Linked DNA regions of Homo sapiens: region 1 is linked to region 2. Evidence: promoter capture Hi-C in 16 types of primary human blood cells and fetal thymus (Javierre and others, 2016). All regions are on one chromosome and are shown on one strand. Each heading gives the region's core, a stretch centred on a gene start or on the middle of the fragment in contact. The rest is flanking DNA. Distances are from core to core; before and after follow the strand shown.

The links. The method cuts DNA at HindIII sites, captures the fragments that hold promoters and counts their contacts. A CHiCAGO score of 5 or more calls a contact.
Region 1: a contact is called between a fragment that was not itself captured here and the fragment with the promoter of TYK2 in region 2, in 2 of 17 cell types (erythroblasts and total CD8 T cells). The highest score is 6.2, in erythroblasts.

Annotation. Positions count from the first base shown.
Region 1 is chr19:10,135,824-10,139,410 of GRCh38, reverse strand. It overlaps DNMT1 (DNA methyltransferase 1), which reads left to right. Exons shown (of 41, transcript NM_001130823.3): 35 at 806-972; 36 at 1,402-1,579; 37 at 2,131-2,326; 38 at 3,124-3,290; 39 at 3,559-3,587. Among named protein-coding and RNA genes, the nearest start is that of EIF3G, 18 kb to the right of the region's middle. RefSeq lists an enhancer at 2,771-3,587. The HindIII fragment of the contact is 6,913 bases long and covers 1-3,587 here.
Region 2 is chr19:10,378,965-10,382,434 of GRCh38, reverse strand. TYK2 (tyrosine kinase 2) reads left to right here and starts at 1,863. Exons shown (of 25, transcript NM_003331.5): 1 at 1,863-2,055; 2 at 2,656-2,820. RefSeq lists enhancers at 1,234-1,897, 1,806-1,965. The HindIII fragment of the contact is 15,548 bases long and covers 1-3,470 here.

The DNA of each region.
Region 1 (3,587 bases), core at 454-2,953, 240 kb after region 2:
CTCCTGGCTCCTTTCCCTCGATGGGGAAGGGTGAGCAGCCCACCATGGAGCACTGTGGAATGGCTGAGTCTGCACAGAGCGGGAGGGGAAGTGAGGTGCGCAGAGCCATGTGTAGGCGGCAGCTGTTCGATTGGTTTAAAAGACAGTTTTGCTCTGGGTAACTGCGCACACAAACCCCCACAGATGGCCGAGGGTTGCACTCCAGGTGGCTGTGTCTGCAGGGACAGGGATGGACATAGTCTGTGGGGCCCAGGCCTTATCTGAAAAGCATCCCCCATCCTCTCTGTATCAGCTCAGCAATTGAGGGCATAATTAAAAATGAAACAGCTATCCAGATGCTAGCACAGGATGTCTGCCTAAGTGGGCAAGCACTTGGCTACCCGGTCCCCTAGCTCAGCCTCAGGGCGACTCAGGCTCACCAGACAAGACTTGTTGCAGCCACGTTCTCTGTCCTTGTGACCACAGCCATCAGGGAAGCGACAGGGCTCCTGGTCTCCAGTGTTCTCCCCGAGTGCTAAGACCTTGGGGCCCTTGCAGTGCTTTCAGAGCTGGCCGGACTTCCCCGCAGGGTTTGCTCCCACCTTCCCCAGTGGCTGTCCCCTGGGCTCAGCTGCTTTTGTTCTTTATCTGCTCCAAACTCCTCTGACCAGGAGCACGCCTGCTGAGGTAACTGGGGATTTCTGCAAGTGCACTCCGCATTGGCCAGCCACTCCCGACTCAGGCTGCTGACCCTGGGCCTGGGTCTGGCCAGTCCAGTTGGGAGTGTCCCACTGACGGTGGGGTTGTCCGTCCTTCTCCCCCACAGGCCGGTCAGTACGGCGTGGCCCAGACTAGGAGGCGGGCCATCATCCTGGCCGCGGCCCCTGGAGAGAAGCTCCCTCTGTTCCCGGAGCCACTGCACGTGTTTGCTCCCCGGGCCTGCCAGCTGAGCGTGGTGGTGGATGACAAGAAGTTTGTGAGCAACATAACCAGGTAGGTGGCCCCCGTCGCTCCTCCACACACTGCCGAGCAGGCCTCAGTAGCTCATGGGGCCCGTGAGTACTCCCTGGTGAGGCTTGGGGAGGAGAGGATGGTACAGCATCTGCCCTGCCACACGGTGCTCTGCCACATGGCACTCTGCCACCTGTGGTCTCCAGTTCTGACCCTGCATCATCTGCTTCCCTAGTAGATAGCATGTGCAGAGCGGCCAGCCGCATGCTTGGCTGTGGTCATCCACAAAGCCCACGCCATAGCCCCATCCCCCCTTCCAGATGGCATCCAGGCACACTGCCACCCATGTGACCTCGGGCAGTGCTGTGATCTCGGGAGAAGGCCATCTGAGCAGGCAGGGGGTGGCACCTGTGATGAGGGGACAGCTGCTGCGTGCATCTCCAGAGGTGTTGACCTCCTCCTCTGTTGCAGGTTGAGCTCGGGTCCTTTCCGGACCATCACGGTGCGAGACACGATGTCCGACCTGCCGGAGGTGCGGAATGGAGCCTCGGCACTGGAGATCTCCTACAACGGGGAGCCTCAGTCCTGGTTCCAGAGGCAGCTCCGGGGCGCACAGTACCAGCCCATCCTCAGGGACCACATCTGTAAGGTAATGGCACCCTGACAGAGCGGCTCCTCCTCGAGGCCCAGCCCAGCAGCCTCGTGGGAACAGTCAGCCTGCCCAAGACTCAGGGGAGACATGGAATCTGATCCCAGGCTCCTCCTCCCGAGTCCTCAGCCTTTGTGTGACCCCTGGTCTCTCTTGCATGGTCATGGGAAGTGTCAGAGCTCCCGCAGTCCTGGACTTGGTCTGGAATGGTGTCAAGCCACTGCCCACCCACCACTGCCTTCCCCCTTGCTGCCTCTCCCCGCATGTTTTCCCAGGATGCCAAGACCAGCCCTTTCACCATCCCCTGGCACCACTCCCCTTCCCCCACCCTAAAGGCTCAGCTTAGATTCCCACGCTCTCCTACACCTGCGCTGCCTCAGGTCCCTGCCGTGGCCTCGAGCCAAGTGCGATATCCCTGACTGTCTCTTTCCCGATGGGCGTGAGCCCCAGGGGGCTTCCTGGTCACCATGGTGTTCCCAGCTCCCAGCCCACCATGGATGCTCGGATGCTGCTCACATGAGGTGACAGCTGGGCCCCCCACACTCTTTCAGGACATGAGTGCATTGGTGGCTGCCCGCATGCGGCACATCCCCTTGGCCCCAGGGTCAGACTGGCGCGATCTGCCCAACATCGAGGTGCGGCTCTCAGACGGCACCATGGCCAGGAAGCTGCGGTATACCCACCATGACAGGAAGAACGGCCGCAGCAGCTCTGGGGCCCTCCGTGGGGTCTGCTCCTGCGTGGAAGGTGGGTCCTGTAAGTTGTGGTTCCCGGTGGGCTGAGGGGAAGGAAGGCAGAGCCCTGGGCCTTTGGCCTGTGAACCTGGAGGCCAGGGCAGGGCACAGACACACCAAGCCTGGGTGTCCCAGAGAAGGTAGCTGCTGACCATGTTGAGTAGTAAAAGCAGGCTGGGTTCATGGCCCACACCTATAATCCCAGCACTTTGGGAAACCAAGGCGGGAGGATCACTTGAGCCTGGGAGGTTGAGGAGGCTACAGTGAGCTGTGATTGTGCCATTGCACTCCAGCCTGGGAGACAGAGTGAGACCCTGTCTCTAAAAAGAAAAAAAAAAAACAATAAATAAATAATAAAAGCAGGTCAGGCACGATGGCTCACCTCTGTAATCCCAGCACTTTGGGAGGCCAAGGCAGGCAGATCACTTGAGATCAGGAGCTCGAGATCAGCCTGCCCAACATGGTGAAACCCCATCTCTATTAAAACTACAAAAATTAGCCGGGCGTGGTGTCGCACGCCTATAATCCCAGCTATTTGGGAGGCTGAGGCAGGAGAATCGCTTGAACCCCATAGGCAGAGGTTGCAGTGAGCCAAGATCATGCCATTGCACTCCAGCCTGGGCAACAGAGCGAGACATATAATACTAATAATAAAAACAGTGCCCAGAGAACGAGGATTGTTGGCTGCTCCACCCCAGGGGGCCCCTTGCACAGGAGGTGCCATCTCTGCCTCCCAAAGCTCTAAGAGCCACTGTCCCAAGCCTATACCCCATCCCACAACTGCAGCCTCATCACTGTCCTGTCTTCCAGCCGGCAAAGCCTGCGACCCCGCAGCCAGGCAGTTCAACACCCTCATCCCCTGGTGCCTGCCCCACACCGGGAACCGGCACAACCACTGGGCTGGCCTCTATGGAAGGCTCGAGTGGGACGGCTTCTTCAGCACAACCGTCACCAACCCCGAGCCCATGGGCAAGCAGGTAGGTGGGGAGGGGGCATCCGAGGGCCTGGGTCAGGCCCTGTACTTGGCGGCCTAACTAGGTGGAAGTGTGGGTTTAGCCAAGTGGGGGACAGCACCCCAGGACCCCAGGCACCTGGCCTCTGCCTCCTGCCCCTCCACGTCCACGGGACAAGCTCATAGGCCAAGGCCATGGCCGTATGCTGTCACAGTGCCATTTCCCTCCCTGTCCCCGACGGTGACCCGGCCTGGGTGCTACTGCCCTCGCCCACCGCGCCTCTTTCCCCCAGGGCCGCGTGCTCCACCCAGAGCAGCACCG
Region 2 (3,470 bases), core at 614-3,113:
GTGAGCCACTGTGCCCGGCCTCTATCAGCATTTTCTTTCTTTTTCTTTTTCTTTTTTTTTTTTTGAGACAGAGTTTAGCTCTTGTTGCCCAGGCTGAAGGGCAATGGTGTGATCTCGGCTCACTGCAACTTCTGCCTCCCAAGTTCAAGCGATTCTCCTGCCTCAGCCTCCTGAATAGCTGGGATTACAGGTGCCCACCACCATGCCCAGCTAATTTTTGCATTTTTAGTAGAGACAGGGTTTCACCATGTTGGCCAGTCTGGTCTTGAACTCCTGACCTCAGGTGATCCGCCCGCCTCCACCTCCCAAAGTGCTGGGATTACAGGTGTGAAAGAGACCATTCCCGATCTCTTTCAGCATTTTCATACTGAATGTCCACAGCTGCCCTGTGAGGAGGCTTTTTACCCATATTTTCTGACTCAGAGAGAAGCAGCCACATGTCCCTTGGCCATGGCAGTTAAGACCAACTCCATGGAGCTGGGTGTCTTAGCTCACATCTGTAATCCCAGCACTTTGGAAAGCCAAGGCAGGATGATTGCTTGAGGCCAGAAGTTCAAGACCAGCCTGGGCAACATAGCCAGACCCCATCTCTACAAAAATTTAAAAATTAGCCACAAAATTTAAAAATTAACAACAAAAGGGCCGGGTGCGGTGGCTCACGCCTGTAATCCCAGCGCTTTGGGAGGGTGGATCACGAGGTCAGGAGTTCGAGACCAGCCTGGCCAAGATGGTGAAATCCCATCTCTACTAAAAATACAAAAATTAGCCGGGCGTGGTGGCGGGCGCCTGTTGTCCCAGCTACCCAGGAGGCTGAGGCAGGAGAATCGCTTGAATCCGGGAGTCTGAGGTTGCAGTGAGCCGAGATCGCAGCATTGCACTCCAGCCTGGGCGACAAGAGCGAAACTCCATCTTAAAAAAAAAAAAAAAAAAAAGTGGAAGATGAGGAAGTTGATCAGACATCAAGGATGAGCGGATGACTTAATAGGCTTCTTTGCTAAGACTTGGCTGGGCAGGTGAAAGACAAAGTCGAGGAGTGGTTATGGTGTGGCACAGAAGAAGGGTCAGAGGACGGTCTTTGTTACCTCTTCATGCCTGAGTTTCTTCCTCTGTGAAATGGGGATAATAAGAGCCGCCATACAGGGAATTGCTGCTAGGATCAAATGAGATAATGTATGTGAAACGCTCTGGCTGTAGGCTTCTCAGCAAATGGGCACGACTTGCGGAGTGGGGATTTGAATTCACGTCTGGCGGGATGTCCAAGCTGCTACCCTGACCGCTAGGGAGCTTCAGAGGACAGGGCTGCAGGTGATCAGGAAGAGGACTGGGGCAGGTGGGCGAGGAATGCCTCCCAGGAGTGAAGGAGGGGGAATTCTAGTCAGCAGGATGGAGTCGGCCAGGTAGAAACGAGGGAAAGGAGACAGGACCGGATGGAACGGGGAAGCCAAAGGGCAGGGCGTCGGAGGGTTGAATGGTGGCCGGTGCAGCTTTGAACACCGAGGTGAGGACATGCAGCTGTGTCCTAGGGTCAGGACCGTACACGCCTGACCCAATTCCACAGCACGGAGGGGAACTCCAGGATCCGGCCGCGTTGCCCACACACTTCGCTCTCCCTCCCGCCTCTCGCAAGCCCCTCCCCCGTCTCCGTCCACCGAGTGCCAGCCAATAGCAGAAGCGACAGCGCATCTGGGTGCCGACTCAGCCAATCGCGGCTGAGTGACGAATGAGCCCCAGGACCAATGAGAGTGCCGCCACCATGGCAAAAAAAAAAAAATCCAATGGTGACGAGCAGGGAGAACAGAGCAGCTGCCAATGGGCGTGTGCGTTTCAGGCGGCCAATGGGAGGAGGCGTCTCGGCGGGGGACAAGCAGTAGCTACCCGCGGGAGCGGGGAGGGGTCCGGGTTCGAGCTTGTGTTCCCCCGGAAGGGTGAGTCTGGACGCGGGCGCGGAAGGAGCGCGGCCGGAGGTCCTCAGGAAGAAGCCGCGGGGACTGGCTGCGCTTGACAGGCTGCACTTGGATGGGAGCACCTGGTGCCTCGGGACTGCTCCGATGCCCGGTGGGTGCACATCCCAGTTCCCGCCGTTGCCGGCCGGGTTTAGAGGTTTTGGGGGGAGGACATGGGGGCGTGCAGCCTTCCCAGTTGCAAACTTCACTCCGACCCTGTCTTCAAAGCTGGGTCTGGGTCCAGTGGGGACGAGAAAGGAGGAAGGAGGAAGTAGGCTCCGCGAAAGCCCCATCCCCGGGATCTCATCTATAACATGAATAGGTATTAATGGCAAAGGCTAATTAAGCGCTTACTGTATACCAGGCACTTTCTCTGCCTCCTCGCGTTAAATCCTCCCAGCAGCCTTTTGAGGTAGACACTGTTACATGCCCATTTTCCAGATGAGGAAACCAGCAACATGGGTGGAAGTGACAGCCCCTCCACTTCCATACTGGCGCCCTCAGGAGGCTCAGGCCCTGGATTGGGGGGATGGAGCTGGACATAAACTCTCCTAGGCTTTGGGGAGTCAACAGGGACTGAGGTCACTCATGGGGGTAAATGTGGGAGAGGAGAATTGTGGCCTGAAAGAGGCCATCACCACGATGAAACTAATAACAATTATGTTATTCTTGTTTTGGTCATATTTGTTCTTTTTGTGTGTGCCTGAATCAGGGTCTGTGCTGAATGTGTAATATGCGGAACTATATTGAAACATTACAACCATCTTTTGATGGCAACACCCTGAGGACCTCCCTTTTCCAGATGGGGAAACTGAGGCCCAGAATTGCTAAGTGGCTTGCTTGAGTTGACACAGGGAGCTCCAGGACTCACCCTCAGGTATGTTTGACCACATCTGCCTGTCTGGTTATTTTGGGGAGGTGTGTTAAGAGCAGATTTTTATTTTACTTTTTATTTATTTATTTATTTATTTATTTATTTATTTATTGTATTTTAGTAGAGATGGGGTTTCACCATGTTGGTCAAGATGGTCTCAATCTCCAGACCTCGTGATCTGTCCGCCTTGGCCTCCCAAAGTGCTGGGATTACAGTCATGAGCCACCGCGCCTGGCCCTTTTTATATATTTTTATTACTTATTTATTTATTTATTTATTTATATTTTTAGAGTCAGGGTCTCACTCTGTCACCCAGGCTGGAATGCAGTGGTGCGATCACTGCTCACTGCAGCCTCCAACTCCTGGGCTCAGGAGATCCTCCCACTTCAGCCTCCCGAGTAGCTTGGAGTACAGATGTGCACCCCCACGCCTGGCTAAATTTTAAAAATTTCTTGTAGAGGCCGGGCACAGTGGCTCACGCCTGTAATCCCAGCACTTTGGGAGGCCGAGGCGGGTGGATCACCTGAGGTCAGAGGTTCAAGACCAGCCTGGCCAACATGGCAAAACCCTGTCTCTACTAAAAATACAAAAATTAGCCCGGTGTGGTGGCAGGCGCCAGCTACTCAGGAGGCTGAGGCAGGAGAATCACTTAA